7 separate regions of the Homo sapiens genome follow, and all the other regions are linked to region 7. Evidence: promoter capture Hi-C in 16 types of primary human blood cells and fetal thymus (Javierre and others, 2016). All regions are on one chromosome and are shown on one strand. The core of a region is centred on a gene start or on the middle of the fragment in contact, and the rest is flanking DNA. Distances in the headings are between cores, read along the strand shown.

The links. The method cuts DNA at HindIII sites, captures the fragments that hold promoters and counts their contacts. A CHiCAGO score of 5 or more calls a contact.
Region 1: a fragment that was not itself captured here is called in contact with the fragment with the promoter of OR2T4 in region 7 in 4 of 17 cell types (naive CD4 T cells, naive CD8 T cells, activated CD4 T cells and 1 more); the score reaches 7.1 in naive CD4 T cells.
Region 2: a fragment that was not itself captured here is called in contact with the fragment with the promoter of OR2T4 in region 7 in 4 of 17 cell types (non-activated CD4 T cells, naive CD4 T cells, naive CD8 T cells and 1 more); the score reaches 7.2 in non-activated CD4 T cells.
Region 3: a contact is called between a fragment that was not itself captured here and the fragment with the promoter of OR2T4 in region 7, in 2 of 17 cell types (naive CD8 T cells and naive CD4 T cells). The highest score is 7.4, in naive CD8 T cells.
Region 4: a fragment that was not itself captured here is called in contact with the fragment with the promoter of OR2T4 in region 7 in 6 of 17 cell types (naive CD4 T cells, total CD4 T cells, activated CD4 T cells and 3 more); the score reaches 11.1 in naive CD4 T cells.
Region 5: a fragment that was not itself captured here is called in contact with the fragment with the promoter of OR2T4 in region 7 in 1 of 17 cell types (M2 macrophages); the score reaches 5.3 in M2 macrophages.
Region 6: a fragment that was not itself captured here is called in contact with the fragment with the promoter of OR2T4 in region 7 in 5 of 17 cell types (naive CD4 T cells, non-activated CD4 T cells, naive CD8 T cells and 2 more); the score reaches 8.1 in naive CD4 T cells.

Annotation. Positions count from the first base shown.
Region 1 is chr1:248,691,248-248,693,947 of GRCh38, forward strand. All of the region lies in intron 3 of OR14I1 (olfactory receptor family 14 subfamily I member 1), which reads right to left. Among named protein-coding and RNA genes, the nearest start is that of OR14I1, 10 kb to the right of the region's middle. The HindIII fragment of the contact is 9,246 bases long and covers 1-2,700 here.
Region 2 is chr1:248,668,714-248,671,413 of GRCh38, forward strand. No RefSeq gene overlaps it. Among named protein-coding and RNA genes, the nearest start is that of OR2T27, 15 kb to the left of the region's middle. The HindIII fragment of the contact is 4,700 bases long and covers 1-2,700 here.
Region 3 is chr1:248,812,632-248,815,331 of GRCh38, forward strand. SH3BP5L (SH3 binding domain protein 5 like) reads right to left here. Exons shown (of 7, transcript NM_030645.3): 5 at 1,818-1,979; 6 at 358-531. Among named protein-coding and RNA genes, the nearest start is that of SH3BP5L, 12 kb to the right of the region's middle. The HindIII fragment of the contact is 6,170 bases long and covers 1-2,700 here.
Region 4 is chr1:248,785,720-248,788,419 of GRCh38, forward strand. No RefSeq gene overlaps it. Among named protein-coding and RNA genes, the nearest start is that of LYPD8, 31 kb to the left of the region's middle. The HindIII fragment of the contact is 1,224 bases long and covers 675-1,898 here.
Region 5 is chr1:247,916,300-247,918,999 of GRCh38, forward strand. No RefSeq gene overlaps it. Among named protein-coding and RNA genes, the nearest start is that of OR2T8, 2.6 kb to the right of the region's middle. The HindIII fragment of the contact is 3,832 bases long and covers 1-2,700 here.
Region 6 is chr1:248,712,453-248,715,152 of GRCh38, forward strand. No RefSeq gene overlaps it. Among named protein-coding and RNA genes, the nearest start is that of OR14I1, 11 kb to the left of the region's middle. The HindIII fragment of the contact is 1,125 bases long and covers 711-1,835 here.
Region 7 is chr1:248,360,277-248,362,976 of GRCh38, forward strand. OR2T4 (olfactory receptor family 2 subfamily T member 4) reads left to right here and starts at 1,389. Exons shown (of 1, transcript NM_001004696.2): 1 at 1,389-2,351. The coding sequence starts at 1,389. The coding sequence ends at 2,351. The HindIII fragment of the contact is 1,770 bases long and covers 1,275-2,700 here.

The DNA.
Region 1 (2,700 bases), core at 122-2,621, 330 kb after region 7:
ATTTATGTCCCAGGTACAGTGCTAAAGGCTGGAAGTATGTGGATCATGCATACATACACAGTCCCTGTCCTTTCAAAGTGTTCAGTCTCAAGGAGGTGTGAGTATGTTAGAAAATATTCTGAGGTGCCAGAATTGCACTAGATGCATTGATGACTTGGAGGGTATTGGTAGGGTAGAATGTTCCCGTCAGAGAATTAAGTATATAGGTACCCTTTCCTCAAAAATGCTTAGACTAGGTAGGGAAGAGGGTGAGGCACAATAGCATATCTTTAATTGGGTGGGGTGAGAACCAAAGAATCGGAAAAACAGACATTCCAGCTCCTCCAAGTTCTTCCAATCGTCAGAACTGTGGAACTAGCCCACCAGGCTTTCTCCAGTCACGTGAGCCGGGAGCCACCAGGATCTCATTGGCCAAGGCTCCCAGAGGGCGGGAAGAGCGGGAAGTGAGGACCAATGGGGCAGGCCAAAGGGACTGTGGAGGCCGACGCATGCGCAGTGCCCTCCGGCCTAGCCCGGCCAACCCGCCTGTCCCGGACCGCCCGGCGTCAGGTACGGGTTCACCAAGCCACCCCGCCCACCTCAGGACGCAGCTGCCGGTCCAGCTGCTCCCGCGGGCCCACAGCGCGCTGTGGAAAGGAGCGGACAGGCCAGAGGCTCTCTCGGGCCTACAAGTCTCTAGGCTAGGCAGTGTTTCCGAGTCCCAGGTGCCTCCAGAGGCCGAGCTCACAGCGCGGCCCACCCAGCATCCGGGGGCGCTGTGAGGGGCGCTCGCCCAGCAGCGGAAAGGCCATTCGCGTGGCGCGGGAGCGCGGGCCCGGCCGCCTGGGCGTGTCCCTTTCGCGGAACTGAGCTCACTGGCTCCTCTCTTCCAGACGGAGCGACGGGGCCGGCCGCAGCCTCAGCCACGCGTCCCTCGGTGGCGGGCAGGCTCCTCTTGGCCTGCAGCCTTACTTTCATGCCCTTCTTCACAGGTGAGCGGATGGCTTGGGGTCCTCCCGCATTTCCCGCAGCGTCGCTCTCTGCATTCCCGCATTCCCAGGTTCCTGCTGCATTCGTGAATTCCCTCCTGCATTCCTGTACTCTCCACTCTTCCAGCCTGCATTCCCACATTTCCACCCTCATTCCTGCATTCCCAACTGCATCCCCCAACGTTGCCACTTTCTCCCCATCGTTCCCACCTGCGTTTCCGCATTCCCACATCCCTGCTCTGATTCCCACCCGCATTTCTGAATCCCCACCTGCTTTCTCTACCCCAGTCCAGCCTTTATTCCGGCATTTCTGCCTTCATTCTCGCGTTCCCAGCCACATTCCCCTTTGCATTCTGCAGACCTCCAATCACCTTTCTTTGTTGGGCAGTGTACTCATCAGCACGGCATAAGGAAAGAGCAGACACGGCTCCTGCCCTCATAATGCTTACAGTCTACAGAACAGTGCTGGGGACACAGTCCTGAGTGTTGCCTTCTGATCAACCACTTAACTGACTGCCTGGCCTCAGGAAAGCAGCTGAGCTTATCTGTTCTTAGGTATCCTTATTAGAGTACTAAGAATATTGGTTCCTGCCTATTATAGTTGTAAGGAACATGTGAGCTAGTAAAGGGCTGACACAATGCCTGGCATGTAATAAGCTCTCATTAAAGAGAGCTTTAATGTTTGTCTGTCTTTCTCCAGAGACCACTTCATGTTGGGAGAATTGTGGGGAGAGAAAATGTTCACCAGTGAAACGTGAATCATGAGCCCTCATCCAAGTAGTTCTACTTCCCCGATTTCCCTGAAGGTTATAGGGTACTGTGTGAGCAGCCTCTAACTCTCCCTGGTTGTTCACAGAAGTAAGATGTTCTGGGTCTGCTTATCGGGAGGAGTCATTCAGTTAGTGCCACATAATCATTTTAACATTTCTCCCATTGCTGCCAGGGCATCCTGCATCACCTCCCAAGCCAGCCTCCCACGTCACCTGGGTGGTGTACTAATTCACGGCCAGGAGCACTGACTGTTCCTGCTCCCACGTCACCTGGGTGGTGTACTGATTCACGGCCAGGAGCATTGACTATTCCTGGCCACCTCCTTGCACCTTTCCTGGTTCCCTCAGCCTCTCAAAGTTCTCATCTTTCCTTTGATGAGAAAGAGAAGGGCAGACTGAAAATAGACTCACCACCCACCTGTCCTTTCCCCCTGCCCCATACTGGTGGACCAGCATCACAGTAAAAATAGTTACCACTTAGTAAGAATTCATTATGAGCCAACTTAGGATTTTTGATAAGATAAAAGAGTTCAGCATAATTTTACATAAAATTAGTTTTTTCTTGATATATTTTCTTCTCTTCTGCTTTCCACACCTAATAAAACATTACAGAAAGTCTTGTTTTATTTATTTTGAGGACAGGCCTTAGGTAAAATGTGGAAGTTTATCTTGGAGCTTCCAATCTTCAAGTTCTCTTCTCCTTTCCCCATCCTCTGTCTTCTCCACTCTATCCTATCTTATCTCCTCTAGAGCCCAAACCCAGCCCCACTGATTTTTCTCAATCAAAGCTCATTTAAAAAAAAAAAAAGGATGGGAAAATCGTCGTTCCTCTCACTATGAATAGCTAAGAACAGTGCTATTAACTTGCCTGGTATGCTCTGCATTTTAACAGAAATCAAAGTCCAGAACTTTTTAAAAAAAAAAAAAAAAACCATTTACTGGAATATTGGGCTTAAGAGTGT
Region 2 (2,700 bases), core at 174-2,673, 310 kb after region 7:
CCTGGGGGTTTTATGGCACTCTACTTGCAAATGTTTGTGTAAATGTGAAGGTTTGAGAGCATGCTTGGTTTTCTAGTACTCTGGCTGGTTATGTATTATAGTCTGTTCTGGCACATTTTTAAACTGATGGGTAAATTCAGAGCTCAAAGTTGACCTGCAACTATAGAATTAAATATAGCATCTCCTAAATTCTCAATTTCTCTATTTTATTTTTCTGTTTTAAATGTACTGTTGCTTTTCTACTGGTTTTGAGATAAAACCCATTGTTTAAATTAAACCATCTTTTGCAAGCTGGTGAATCTGTATTGCTGTCTTGTGACTAGAGTTCTGAAATAAAACCTATGGGATCTTTGTATCTGTGTATCTATGTTGAGTTGTGTTTATGTTACATGTACATGTATTTTCTTATATGTTGTAACTGCAAGGTATCAAATGGGCTTAAAAATAAAGGATTACTCATAAAGTCCAAATGCTCTTCAAGTTCACATGACAAGTAAATCTTCAATAAATAAGCTGGCTTTATAATTATTAGTAAAATAAAATTTGAAATGCCTTCAGAATTGTCAGCATACATTTTTGTCTGGATTTATTGGTGAAATAGTTTTATATTTAGCGGTGTTTGTATTATAAGGTACCAAACTTTGTCATGAAGGTTATAAAACTTTAAAACCCATCCCTTAATGATCATTGTGTAATTTTTTATAAATAAGACATTTAATACTGTTGATTTATTGAAAATAGGTAAAACCTTAGTGGTTGGCCAAAAAAAAATCAAATAAACATATATTTAACATTTGGTTCTTATGTAGGTAAACACCTGAAATATTCACAGCCTATAAGAATGGTTAGCTGAAAAATAACTTTAATGATGACTAGCTTTGTCTAATATGTCAGTTTTTGTAAGTAACCTAGGAAAACTGTTTTAAAAAATAAATTAGGTAGCTTTAATGGCATAAATGCTTATAAATGAACTTGTCATATAATTTAAAATCTTAAAGTTAAAGTAAATAATACTCATTAAGTGTCTGGATCATTTCTAATTTAAAAAACAGAAAAACATATTTCTAAAATAATATAAAATGGTTCTCATCTATAAAATACTGATATATGACAGACAATTCAAGATTTACTACTTCCTAGGTTTTCACAAAAATTTAAGGTTCTAAGAATAAAAATTCTAGTTAATATATAATTCTGTATTTAGAGAGTACCAAAGTAAATATTTTTATGGAAAAGAAATTATAATAAAGACATAAAAATATGTTCTTATTAAAAGGAAAATAATCTTTGTCAAATTCAAAGGCTATTATACAAATCCAAAGATGTATTTATTTTTAAAAATGGGTAAAAAGTATAATTTTGTATGAGAAAGAGACTTGTATAGTAAATGTAGTTCTAAAATAAAACAACTCATTATTTAAGAGGGAAATTTTGGACAAAACAGAAAGTCCAAGTATGTCATAAATAGTCTGTGTAAGATATGATAAGGTTTATAAAGAGAATTTATGAAAGAAAAGTTTTTGGAGACTAAAGCTACTCTTTCTTAGATGGGAGGCTCAAGTAACTCCATCTTGAATGGTGATCTGCCCTATTGGCTTCTGATTAACTCCAGGGGGGAAGGCCTTTAAGATTTCCAGTTTATTTATTGCTCCTCGTGTAAGAACAGGTACTTATTATAAATCCTGCCCTTAGGTCAAACAACTTTTATGTTATCATACTTCAATTGTCCTACACATGCCTTCTGAATCATTCCTTCCCTATGGCATATAAGTCCTGGGTTTTGGGGTTAATGGCACAGGAATTTGCCATCTCATCTCACTGCTGCCTGAGACACACACATGGCTTCTGTTCATAAGTCCCTATTAATTGTTTCTGCCTAAGAAACTGTATTTATCAGCCTCTATCTTCAGCATCTCAGCTTCCTCCAACTTTGGATAGGTTTGTATAGACCTGCTCATTGTGAAACAATTTTGTATGTGACTAAGTTGTCGATAACTTAAAAAGAATTATTTGTATTAGTGTTTCTAGAGATTGGGATTTAATATTAAAAATACACAAATAGAAAAACTACCTATAGGGTACTATGCTTATTACTTGGAAGATGAAATAATCTGTACACCAATCCCTTGTGACATGCAATTTACCTATATGACACCTACACAAGTACTTCTGAACCTATGTAATTGGATTGTTTGTAATGCAAAGGATAAATGCTTAAGAAGATAAATGCCGCATCCTCCATGATGGGCTTATTTCACACTGCATGCCTGTATCAAAACATCTCATGTATTCCACAAATATATACACCTAACATATACCCACAGAAATTTTGAAAAATAATTTGTGGATTAAAACCAAAATGACACTCTAAAAAAATTAATTTTTTATGTAGCAGTATTCAGATGTGGGGCCTTTAAGAGGTGATTTGGTTGTGAGGCCTCTGCTCTCATAAATGAATTAATTAATTCATGGATTAATGGATTATCATAGAAGTGAGATTAACTTTATAAGAAGAAGAGAGATCTTGGCTAGCACATCAGACTGCTCAGCTCCCTCATCATGTAATGTCCTGTGCCACCTCATGCTCTGCAGGGAATCCACACTGGCAGAAGTGTCCCCACTGGTCCACCTGAGGCTCTGCAGGGAGTCCCCGCTGGCAGAAGGGTCCCCACTGGTCCACCTTAGGTTCTGCAGGGAGTC
Region 3 (2,700 bases), core at 75-2,574, 450 kb after region 7:
CCTCTCAGGCCTTCCTCTCCACCAGCTCCTGCTTCCTCATCCTCTCCCCACTGTTCCCTTTCACCCAATGGCTGGTTCTTCTTCCCCATCCCAGATTTCCACCAGTTCTTTTCCTCTTGTTTACCTCCCTTCTTCCAACTACGTTCTCGCCGTCACCAGCCCCCATCACCAGCCCCCATCCCTGCCTCTCACTCCTGCAAGGTCATTTGGAACATGTGTGCCACCACCCTTCCCCACCGCTAGCCGGAGGCCTCACCCTGGCCACCTCACCAAGATGGCCCAGAGAGGCCGACCAGCATCCCCTCCAGCCTGCACCCCCACCTACCCATTCCTCCTCCCCCTCACCCACTCAGCTACCTCCAGGATCTGGCTGAACTGGGCCTTGAGCTCAAAGTAGGGGCGGCTCTTGCCGATGGCCCTCCGGAGGGTCTTCTGCAGGGCTTGGACCCGAGCCTCAGCCTGTTGGCACAGCCGAGTCACTCGCTGGTGCTCCCGCTCACCTCGAAGCCGCTCTTCCTCCGCCTCATTCACCTGGCCCAGAGGACACATCACTGAGCCAGGACCCATGCTTCAGTCTCTGGCATCTGCCCCAGGCTGCCAATCTGAACAACGCCCTGGGGGGAACCCAAACAGGAACATCCTCTGCAAACCCCCAACTGTGTACAGAGCCCGAGACACGCAGGGGAACACGGGGTCTATGAGCCTCAAGACAGCTTATTTCTGTCTCTCTTGGATCTGCTGCCTGACCGTCGAGGACCACATCACAGGCACATGCCTCTGAGCCACGTCTTCCCCATGTTCTTGCCTAGTGTCACCTGCACCACTGGCTACTCAGCTTTGCTGCTGCCAGGAAAGGGATGCTGGTGCCCACTCAACCACTTGAGAGCATCAGGGGAATGTCTGTCAGCACATCACACATCTGCAGCAGCCATTCTCTTCAGGGAGCCCTCAGCGCCAATGGTTAGGGATCTGGGAGTGAGAAGAGCCTGTGTGGGGAGCCACAGCTGTGCGCTGGGTTCTCCAGGTTTCCACACCCTATGTGGGCACCGTCCAGGACAAGTGGGCCGAGGTTGGATGGGGCTCTGGCGTGCTTCTGCTCAGGGTGTTGTACAGTTGGCCCACTTGTCCTGGTAGACAAAGCGGCTGGAGCCCTCACCTGCTCCCTGTTCAGGTGTAGCTCTACACTATACACCATCCCCTAACCCCTCCCCCCGTGCTGTGTGCTCTCATTTGCATGAGCTCTAGAGTAGAAGTGAGGTGCCTGTTCTGTGTGAGGGGCAGATGAAGAATCACAAGCCACAAACACCCCCTCGAGTTGCTGACACCTGCCCTGTGCAAGCTGAAGGTGGCAGACAGGGCCAACGGCAGAGATCCTTCCGCTCCCCAGTCCCCTTTCAGGAGCTTGGAAATGATACATAAATTATACTTCAAAACTCGAGGTGTACTGTCAGAGCTCAAAAGCAGGAAAGGGAGCAGACTCTGAAAACAGAAGCGAGGAGTCACACAGCTAAACATAATAAAATGTGAATGTTGAATCCTCAGTATCCACCAGGGATGAATTGTTTGGGTTAGTCCCACACCTGGAGGCAAACGTTCAAGAAGAGCCCGGGATGACATTCTAAGTCAGAGGGAAATGGAATATGGGAAGCAATGGAGGCCAAACAGAACAGAAAACTAGGAACAGGTTTTGCCTGAAACAGAATCAAAGTTGAAAGAAGGCTAGAATAGAGGGAAGAATGAGGAGGTGAGGTGATAAAGACATAGCAAAGGATGGACGAGAACCAGCGAAGGGGACCTGCTGGCACCGCCCGGCTCACCTTGCAGGTAGCATGGTTCAGCATCTCCTGCCACGTGGGGTCCAGTCGGTTCTTGTCAGCCATGACGCCCTGCTCAGCCACAAACACCATTTCTCGAGCAGCGTTGTGCATGCTTACGGCCCGCTCGTACCGCAGCGCTGCCTTCTGTGTCTCCTGCTGAGCCTGGGGGGAGAGGGATATCAGGATGGGGAACCCTGAGGGACCCCAGCTGCCCATGGAGACCCATAATAGACGTGAGGATAAGAGAAGGAGGAAGGCCTACTAGCAATGTCGGCTTCATTTCCCAAACTGTGCTGAGGATAAATGCCAAGGAAGCAACATTCTATAAAGAATATTTCATAAGGATATGGACTAGAAGAAATAAAAATTTTGCCAGTGGAGGGTAGATGTGTGAAATCCAGCACTCCCAAAGGCTGCTAGCCTTTTCCCCTAGGGAAAACAAAGGAAAACACAAACCATTTTAGTGTAAGGTGGTTAGCAACATAGACAGAGTCTTACAGAAAAGATGACCTTGAGACCATCAATTCCATGTTCAGCAGGCAAGCTGAAGGAAGTAATCAGACAAGTGCTCAGGGACAGTCATCATAGCCATACCAACCAAGCAAAAAACAAAACAAACCTAACTTTTCAGTTATAGGACATCGGTTAAATAAATAATAGTACATCTAATATAAGAAAATAAGCTGGGCGCAGTGGCTTCTGCCTGTGAGCCCATCTACTTGTGAGGCTGAGGGAGGAGGATTACTTGAGCCTAGGAGTTTGAGGTTACAGTGAGCTATGATCACACCATTGCACTCCAGTCTGGGCAACAGAGCAAGACCCCATTTCTTAAAAAAATAAAATATTAATCAGTCCTTTAAAATGACGGCTTGGATGTATAGTT
Region 4 (2,700 bases), core at 37-2,536, 430 kb after region 7:
TATGTTGCCAGATGCTTTGCATTCGTATGTAAGACTGATTTAGGTTCTAAGCCCCAATCATTATAACTTTTGTCCACCTAGACATTCTACAGTCTGTGAAAGATTGGGACAATCTTTTGTTGTTCAGGACCATCCCCAAAGTTACAAGATGTCTAGCATCCCTATTTCCTGCCCATGAAATTGCATGAGTCACCACTGCCACTAATAATAATTGTAATCATGCTAAAACACCTCCATAAATCACCAAAACACTTCCCAGGGGATTGCACCTCCCTGTTGACAACAACTACCTGATTGTTAAAGGGTTTTGTTAATGAAAAGGTCAGTATTGACAGAAATAAAAAAGAACGCATCCATCAGCTCTGATTGGTGGATGAGACGGGAGTTAATAGCCACAGATTTCCAAAAGAACATGTCAATAATTGTACAATCATGTCTTGGTGTATCAGTCACATGGATTAGATTATGTTGCCGTAGAAACCTCCACACCCTAAGTTCCAGTGGCCTAACAATGTCTCCCCCACGCTCCATGTCTGATTGGCATTGACAGAAGCACCCTGCTCATCCTTATGACTCAGCACCTCTGACTGGTAGAGCTTTACCTTACCACATGAGTTCATTTTCACAACTGCAGTAGAAAGAGGATGAGGTGAACCTCCTAAAGTGGCTTCTAAAGCTTCCCCTAAAAAGTGGCAAATGTCACTTCTTGCCAGAGCTAGTGTCAAAGTCATTTTGCGACACACAGAGGGTGGGGAAGTGCAATCCAACATACATTCAGGAGGGGAAAGAAATAAACATTTAGTGATTAGCTCTGATGACTACTCTGATGGATTCAAACTCAGTGCCCACGTACTAACTGTGCAACAAGTGCATATTGCTCGGCCTTTGCAAATCTGTTTCCTCATCAGTAATAGTAACAAAAATCATAGTAGCTGCTGCTTATTGGTCCCTTATTGTGTGTACTAAACATTTGACATTTCACTGGGTTGACAGAAAACTTACAGGGTAAATGAGGAACATAATATATTTTAACAGCAATGTCATGAAAACTAAACAAGATAATGTATGCAAACAGTAGCTGGTGCTTGAATAATTACAACTGAGTTCAGCTCTGTGAAAGGTACGGTAAGAGGTGGGGAAGAATAGGCCAGGAGGCTCAAGAGAAGACGTCAAAGACGTAGACATAACCTTCAAGAAGGATATGGGCATTTGGGAAGATAAGACATGAGTGCAGAAAACTGTAAGATATTCTTCTTGCTGTGGCAACTCTGAGGAAGAATACAAACAGGTTGTGAGGAAGCAGAAAAGGAAGAAAGGGGACACCAAGCTAGGGTGAAGAATAAGCTGAGGTATAAAGACAGATTGAGATTCCAGGGTCTAGGGGGAGGGACCCCTATGTCACATGTGGCGAGGGCATGGAGAAGAGTTTCTGAGAGTTCTCAGTTATGTTATGCTATCTTGAGTTATCCTCCCAATGGATCTGGGTTTTCCCACATACTTGTAATCAGCTCCCGCTGGCATCAACATTAACACTTGTCTAATCCAATCCCCTCTTTTTCAGATAAGAAGTCTGAGGCTCAGCAAACATATAAAATTTGGCTGAAGCTGAATGACAATTGATCTGGGTTTCCTAGTTCTCTCTAATGCCTGTTGCTCTCACCCCCACCAACTGCCATCCCTGGCCACTGTCCCATCTCCCCAGTTCTGAGATGAATATCCAGGAGTGTGCTCTTGTATCCATGCAGGGTCTGGGAGAAGATATTAATATATCCAGAGAAACACTGACCCTCCCTGGGGAACATTATACCCTCCTGCCTCATTGATGTCAGACATGGTCAAATGACTTGCTCCCATCAGTGCAACGTGAGCGGCAGTGATGTGTGTCCCTTTGTAGCAGAAGCTTTCAGGAATAGTCTGTGGTTTGCGGTGCTCCCTTTTCACTCCACATGACAACTAGTGATTCTTCATGCAGAGTCTTCTCCACCAGCTGGGTCCCAGGTTAAGATGACACAGAGTAGAAATGCAGCTTACTCAGATAACATAAACAAGAAATAAATATTTAATGTTTTAGCTTCTGGCACCTTGGGGTCACTTGCGATAGCACCATTACCTAGCCTATCCTGACTCACATATGTGACACAGCTATTTTCTCTCACTTGCTATCGACACTGCTGGCTAAAGACCATGAAGGTTCTATGCCACAGCATGTACCTTACACAAAAGTAAAAGGTATGTTTCTACTCTCTAAATCCTCAAGACGTGGGACACAGACCAGGAGTGGAAACAGTTGAAACACAAATGTGGAATACAACTGAGCAGGTGCATTCATCAACATGGGGCACATTCAAATGTCCTAATCTTCTGGGCTGTTCATGGATAATTTTCTTCAGAAGGGTCTTTTGAGAAAGGTTAGAATGGTGAAGGGTGGCACATCCAATTTTCTCCTTCTAAAGAAAATGGCAGGAAGGAAGAGAAGCCTGGGCAGGGGCAAAGCTGTTCCTTAATCACTGTCATCCCAGGCAAGAAGTTTTATTGCTACCCACCCTTAATAACATATGGATAGACGCAGGTCAAAGAGATGAAGAGATGTGAGGGTGTTAGTCATCCAGCCCCCAGCCTGGGATCACCCACCGCTTTCACAGCCCCTAGCAGCCACCCACCCAGGATAACAGGGCCTCATGGAGTGTCTGAGGGTTCTTG
Region 5 (2,700 bases), core at 51-2,550, 440 kb before region 7:
CCTTAATTCTCACACACCCTAGAGTCCTTCAGAGAGATTTATCTACTTAAGGCAAAAGGCTACTTCCCCCATTGGACAGTAGCCACCTGTGTTACTACACCATTGTATTGATACTCCTGGGACCCCAGAGACATCAGTGTTCAGAACATGGAAAGATAAAACTTTTATCATAAGTGATAGGTAAACTTTCATTGAAAGTTTTATTTGTTACTTGATATACTAAATATCTACAACCTACTGCTTGCACTCAGCCAGGAATTTGTTTTTTTCCACAGGAAATAAGATAACCTGACTTTAACTGTAGACTGCATGTGATCAATAACATTCTAAATCAGAGTAGGATTAGCCACTTCAGTAAGATACAACATGCAAAGGCAGAGGTGTCACTAAAATCTATGATGGGCTTGCCTTCTAAACACAAACAATGGTGATTACAACTTCACTTGGAATAAGCAATTACAATATCTCACGTTTTGTCTAGGAGCAGCTTTCCCCATGATCTATTCCATGAGAAATTTTGTTTAAATATATTTTTTTTTACAGTTTTGGAGGCTGAGATTTATATATACTGGCAGTGAAGCCTGAGTCCACTAAACTTGCAAAAGCTGGAGCCAGGATCCCAAGGGTGCTTGACAGTAGAAAATATTAAGAACAAATAACACAATCATAGAAGGCAGCCCCAGATAAAATCAAACCGCAAACTGCCTGGCACAGTGAATACAATCTGTTGTTACTATTGTTGCTATCACTGATTTTATTACATAGATACAAACACACAAAATATTAAAAAATACAATTATATCACACAGATGCAAAAATATTGATACTTATAAAGCAGCAGAGATTCTGTCAAGTTTAGTTCAATAAGGAAACTACCATGGATTCTACCACGGTTTCTTTTTATTTCAACTACTTTCTTTGACAAGAGCTGGTCTTTCAATATCACACTGTTTAATCTTCCCATCCTATTAAACTACACACAAGTAACGCCAGAGCCACATTACCTCGCCCCTTAATGTATTTTTCAACATCATCTTTTCCATGCACATCTATTTACATTTCATTTTTGCTCCTAAATAATTCTCTCTTCTTTCAATAAATCGCAGCTTTCCAAAAGCATTTTGGAAGTATATTAAAATTATGGGTATTTATAAAATGTCCCTGAAAATTAAACATCTTTGGCAGCCAAAGTGGCAAGCTCATGCCTCTCTGGTTTATTAATCAGAGTTGATTTAGGTCACACCCCTAAACAGTAGACTGTAGACACTGATACAAGTGAAGCCAACACAGCCAGGCTGGAAGAGCTTTTCTCGATGCTGCTCAGACAGGATCCAGCCTTTTGGGAGGAGTCATCACTTTTATCTTCTGTAAGTAGAAAATCTGTGATTCTGTAAATACTAATCACTTAATATTTAATAATTTTCCTGTAAAGTTTGAACTCTAGATAATTCACAGCTATATATCTTTACGTATTTTACAAATAAAATTCTATTATCCATTCTACAACCTGAAGAATCAAAAGTTGCTAGCTGACACAGTCATCAGGTTAAATTCCTGTAATAACCTGTCAATTTTGTCAAATATATGATTTGGCTGTTTCCAATTTATTTTCTGACAGGACAAATTGATTAATCATTTTAGTATCATGGGGAGGAGAGTTACAGTTTTACTATTAAGTTTTGGCAACAGGGATCAGAAAAGCACAGAATGGAATGTTAGAGGCATTGTTCTCAGTGTTCTGTGATTACTTGACGAATTATTGATGAGAAAAAAGGAAGGGATATATACGTGCCTTCTACTAGCATTGCAAAAGAGATCAGTGTGATTTAAAGTAAAAATGTCCACATTTTATCACCATTCTAAGTAAGAAACTATGGGGACAGAAGAAAATATAGTTCAAAATTCTCTAGCTTTCTAAGCTATAGTGAAGAAAGAAAAGGAAAATATTTATTTTTCAGGGTAATACTTTATCATACTTCTTTCTACACTAGTCAATCTTGAATTTTCAACCCTCTGTTAAATGAAATTATAGACATTTTATTAGCAAGATTATTTAATTCTTCATTTTTCATTTAACTGTTCTTTGTATCCATGGCCAATTTTTAAAAAAAATTATCCCAAATAATCATTTTTGTAGGTTTATAAACATTTTAATTAGTGGCAAATTATCTTAGCTTTGTAACATAAAAATATAGACAGTAATTTCAATAAAGCAAATAATTTAATATTATCACATCGTAGAAAAATACAGTTATCTACTAATTTTATTTAACACATTTAATTAATCATTTCGTGAAATAATCTGAATGCTATGGCATGATGACCAGTTAGACTGATACAAACTGATAATTTTTATACACCTGGAAATAAAGAATTTTTATTCCACATAAACATAAAGAATAGAAATATTATCTATTTTCACTGAAAAGGTACAAGCTAATGACATCAAATTTTACAAACTATTTAACCATAGTAGGAACTTCATAATAAGAAAATGTATTTCCTGAACTGAAAAGTCATGCAAGTTGTTGAGATTATTCTCTGAAAACATATGAACCAGTCTGGCACAATTTAAGCGGCTAATTAATTGCAATTGCTATATTTTTATGCTATATATGTTTACCTTACCAAAATAAAAAAAACTAACATCTGTCGTGAAACATTCCATTAAAATGATACTTAAACATACAGCTGAAGTGA
Region 6 (2,700 bases), core at 23-2,522, 350 kb after region 7:
GCTTAGGGCAAACCTGCCTCCTATTCTATTCAGTCACCCCTCTGCTCACTGAGATAAATGCATATCTGATTGCATTTGGTCTTTGGAGGGGCTAGTCAGAAACTCAAAAGAATGTAACCATTTGTCTCTTATCTACCTATGACCTGGGAGTTCCCTCCCTGCTTCGAGTTGTCCTGCCTTTGCTTCGAGTTGTCCTGTCTTTCCAGACTGAACCAATGTTCATCTTACATATGTTGATTGATGTCTCATGTCTCCCTAAAATGTATAAAACCAAACTGCGCTCTGAGCGCCTTGGGCACATGTCCTCAGGACAACCTGAGGCTATGTCCTTTGTGTGCATCCTCAACCTTGGCAAAATGAACTTTTTAAATTAACTGAGACCTATCTCAGATATACAGGATTCACATTTTGTTAACTGTGGAGGGATTCTGAATGGAGATGCCCCTTGACCTTTGAAAAATCTCCTATTGGTGCTTGGTACCCGCATGAGCTAACTTTATGGCTCAAACCAATAGGACAATTTGCTGAGGTCTGGGAGCACCCCCTCCAGATGATACAGGAGCTAGAAAGAAATTATTTAGGCAGTTAATGAGGGTAAGAGAGTCCTTAGCAAGGTTTTGCTTTTAATAAAAAGCAGACCCCAAATCATTTCTTTTCTAACAAAGAGCAGCCTGAAAAATCAAGCTGCAGACATGGAAAAGCAAGCTAGAAGCTTGCATGGGTGAGTGCTGGCAGTTGTGCCAATAGGAAAAGGCTACCTGGGGGCCAGGCATGTTCAACATGGAGGCTCCATCTTCCCTTTTCTCTTTCAATCACATGTACAGTAAAGGAACAGACAACATGGTGCCAGCCAGGTAGGGGACCCATCTGCATAATAAAAGATTAGGATGGGGCTGCCAGCTTCTTTGTGTGCTATGTAAATGGCACACCTGCTCCTCCCAATCTCTCGTCTCCTGTGTAAATCACACTATGCCTCCTCAAGCTAATCCATAAAACCACATGCATTTCATCACGAAACCAGAAGACCCACTTGGAACCCCTTCTCTCTCTGGAGAGAGAGTTTTTTTTCTTTCTCTAGCCTATTAAACTTCCACACTTAACTTCACTCTGGTGTGTTTGTGTCCTTGATTTCCTTGGTGTCAGGCAACAAACCTCAGGTATTACCCCAGACAAACAATACTGCTTCACAGAGAATACCTGATCTCCCAAAATTTGGTTAAGATCTGAAGTTTATTTTGCCGTACAACTCCATTTTTTGAAGTTTTACTTGCTTCCAACAAGGAAGGCAAGATTTCTTGCTTCCATGATGATGGAAGGCAGGTAATTCCTCTATGGAGTTGGAGCTCGCTCCCAACAGGGAAGATGAGTTTGAGTTTTATTCCTGACTCTAGGATGGTAGAGGCTGTCTTCAGCCTGAGACCCATCCCTAAGTAAGTTAACAACCAGCTGTTCCTAATTTCTCTTTACCATTAGAGTGCCCAGTAATCATATTGTTGGGTTTTTTTATTGTTTTTTCCAGACTTTCTTCCATCAGATTTGGTCAAATCTGAGTGAGAATTTCAAATTTTGGGTAACAAAGCCTCTCTAATTTGGCTAAAATTCCTCTCCACTGCACAGGAAGGGAAAAAAACAAACACGTGCTTGGTTTCTGAGCTTGCTTCCTGTCTTAGAAAACAAATATTTTTTCATTCACTTTTCTTTCACACTATACCTCCTTCCCCCTTTGCCATATGCAGTACTACAAAATCTAGAGAAGACTTCTAGTGACTTGAACCCCTTTAAAGAATTCAGAACAAAGGCACCATTCACCCCTTTGGGCGTATTTTTTGGTAAGAAGCTTAAAGAGAAATAATTTTATATGAGAAAGAATCTTGTATGGTATATTTAGTCCTAGAATAAAATGACTGGTTGTTTAAGGAAGAGGGATATTCAGGAGAAAAAAAAAAAAAAAAAAAAAAAGAATTTGAACGTTCAAGCATGTCGTGAATGGTCTGCATAAGTGACAGTAAGAGGATTTACTTAAAAAAAACTGTTATATGATCAAGTTGTCTATTAATTAAAATAAAATTATGATAGTCTATCTAGAGATTGGGCTTGAAGTAAAAAAAGGAAACACACACTAATTAGTTAGAATGATAAAATTTTCTTAGGGGATTGATTTACTCTCAATTATGAAAGAATTTAATTTTTTTAACCAAAAGTTCAAATTTTATTGCATCTTGCCATTTTGGTTTTCTCTGCAGTTTTAAAGGGTGAGAAATAGTAATGCTCTCCAGCTCATTTTTCAGCTTATATAAATTCTTTTCCTCAAGTTCTGTTTGTTGAGGCCTGATGCTAACAATGTTTTCTTAAAGGTCTAAAGGAAATGTTTTCTTCCAACAGAATACTGTATGCAGTACAGCAGGTCTTTTCTTTTGCCTTTTGGTAATTGTCATAACAGATTTTAGGGTTTGTGAAAGCAATTTCTATGCTATTATTATTATTATTAAGTTTTTGTTTGCTTAGGGGAAAAACCAAAATTAAAAGAATTTTTTTATTTAAGGTTATTACATTTGTGTATCTTTCCGTATGGGCTTTTAGAGTCATTGTGACATTGAGTTACAGAGCTTTGACTCCTGGGTCTAAAAAGGACACCAAGTTCTGCTAAATCTTAAACACTGACAGGAATTAAAGCCTCATCTTCAGGCCTGGTAAAAGAAG
Region 7 (2,700 bases), core at 139-2,638:
ATAAAGCAGATATTTGCAAAAACACCAAAAGCCTTACCTGGTAAATAGCAGGGAGTTTCTAAATCCCAGTTATGCCCCCCTGAGATTTAATGCGAATGACAGGAGCTTTAAGGAGTTAAGCTTGGAGAAGCATGCACTAGTCACAAAGAAGGTGGATTCTGCATAAATCTCTGCTCAACATGAAAATAAGAGACATACCTTACATTAATATATGCATTTCTATTTGTAAATATGCATATACAATGTATTCTTATATTTGTAAATCTGCACATATATAAAAATGCATATCTATAAATTTATATAAAATAAATGTAAACTGTATACATACAAGTTGTCTGGGACTAGAGAAATTATCAAATCCAAATTCTTACAAGTCTGACTAAATGATAAAATCAGCAAACTGAAGTAATGAAGCTCATATCATAAGATGATTATAGTAATACAGTCTGCAGAATAATTTGTGTAGATATTAACTCTTTGACAGTGTATGTATTTGTTCATTTGTAACTGGTAATATTCTAAGCACTTTCATTACTTTTCTGCATTTAATCTTCATCAACCCTGAGGTCAAACCTTTTCTTACCATCTATTTTTATGTGCAGTAAACAGAGGAATAGCAGGTAGAGGGGAAGCTGGGTCCACCCTGCAGTCCAGCCACGGTCCCTGGGCTCCTCACCCCATGCGACTCTGGTTTCTGAGGAGTCTGGTGTGTAGGAGGACCCTGGCTTGCTCATGGGGATGTGTGGGGTTTTGCTCCACGAAACCACAGAGCCTCACAGCATTGTCCAATACTGTGGGTAGAAGGGTGCAAATGTTTGGTATGGATTTTCCACAAGTGATATTTTAGTCATGTTCTAAATCATTCCTATATGGAATACACTTTTGGGAGTTTTTAAGATTCCAGATGGATCCTTAAACCAGAGAATGTAATTCACTTTAGACTTCTCTAAACAACTCTAAAAACAGGGGGACAAAATTCTCCTTTGTTTTCAATAATTCACTATTCATGTCTGCATAAGGCAGTGACACTGCCAGTTTCCAGGACTTGTTTATAACAGACACTCTCATCGGGAAATCTCATGACTCAGAACTGTGGCAACTTCACTACAAATCACCCTTTTGATCCACAGTTGTGAATTCTTAGTTCCTGGTAAATTTTTTGAATTGCAGATAATTTATAACACCCAAATCTACAGGCCCATGGGCCTTTCTTTGGTTAGAACACACACACACACACACAATTTGTTTCAGAGGCTCAAATTACTTTAACCCCAAGCTTTCCTTTGTGGCCTAGGTGAAACCTCATGGACAACATCACCTGGATGGCCAGCCACACTGGATGGTCGGATTTCATCCTGATGGGACTCTTCAGACAATCCAAACATCCAATGGCCAATATCACCTGGATGGCCAACCACACTGGATGGTCGGATTTCATCCTGTTGGGACTCTTCAGACAATCCAAACATCCAGCACTACTTTGTGTGGTCATTTTTGTGGTTTTCCTGATGGCGTTGTCTGGAAATGCTGTCCTGATCCTTCTGATACACTGTGACGCCCACCTCCACACCCCCATGTACTTTTTCATCAGTCAATTGTCTCTCATGGACATGGCGTACATTTCTGTCACTGTGCCCAAGATGCTCCTGGACCAGGTCATGGGTGTGAATAAGATCTCAGCCCCTGAGTGTGGGATGCAGATGTTCTTCTACGTGACACTAGCAGGTTCAGAATTTTTCCTTCTAGCCACCATGGCCTATGACCGCTACGTGGCCATCTGCCATCCTCTCCGTTACCCTGTCCTCATGAACCATAGGGTGTGTCTCTTCCTGTCATCAGGCTGCTGGTTCCTGGGCTCAGTGGATGGCTTCACATTCACTCCCATCACCATGACCTTCCCCTTCCGTGGATCCCGGGAGATTCATCATTTCTTCTGTGAAGTTCCTGCTGTATTGAATCTCTCCTGCTCAGACACCTCACTCTATGAGATTTTCATGTACTTGTGCTGTGTCCTCATGCTCCTCATCCCTGTGGTGATCATTTCAAGCTCCTATTTACTCATCCTCCTCACCATCCACGGGATGAACTCAGCAGAGGGCCGGAAAAAGGCCTTTGCCACCTGCTCCTCCCACCTGACTGTGGTCATCCTCTTCTATGGGGCTGCCATCTACACCTACATGCTCCCCAGCTCCTACCACACCCCTGAGAAGGACATGATGGTATCTGTCTTCTATACCATCCTCACTCCAGTGGTGAACCCTTTAATCTATAGTCTTAGGAATAAGGATGTCATGGGGGCTCTGAAGAAAATGTTAACAGTGGAACCTGCCTTTCAAAAAGCTATGGAGTAGACCATTTTGAGAGTAATTTACTTTTCCTTCTCTCTGCACTTCACATATGAGAATGTTATACCAGTGTTATTTCCCAGACTCCAAGACTGCCATGGTGTTTGATCTCATTTTCACACCTCTTTTAGAAATCGCTTTCCTGTACTAGAAACTTTTCAATTTACACTCCGTCTCACTTCAAAATGCATTATTCAGTCATATTATATTGATGTTACAGTTACTGAAGTTCATAACTACTTTCTAATTCTATAGGATATTTTCATATTCTGGGAATACATAATGATACTACTTAGAGGATAAAGGTTATAAGGCATAAAATTGAGAGAGAGGGAGAAATGAGGAAGAAAAAGGG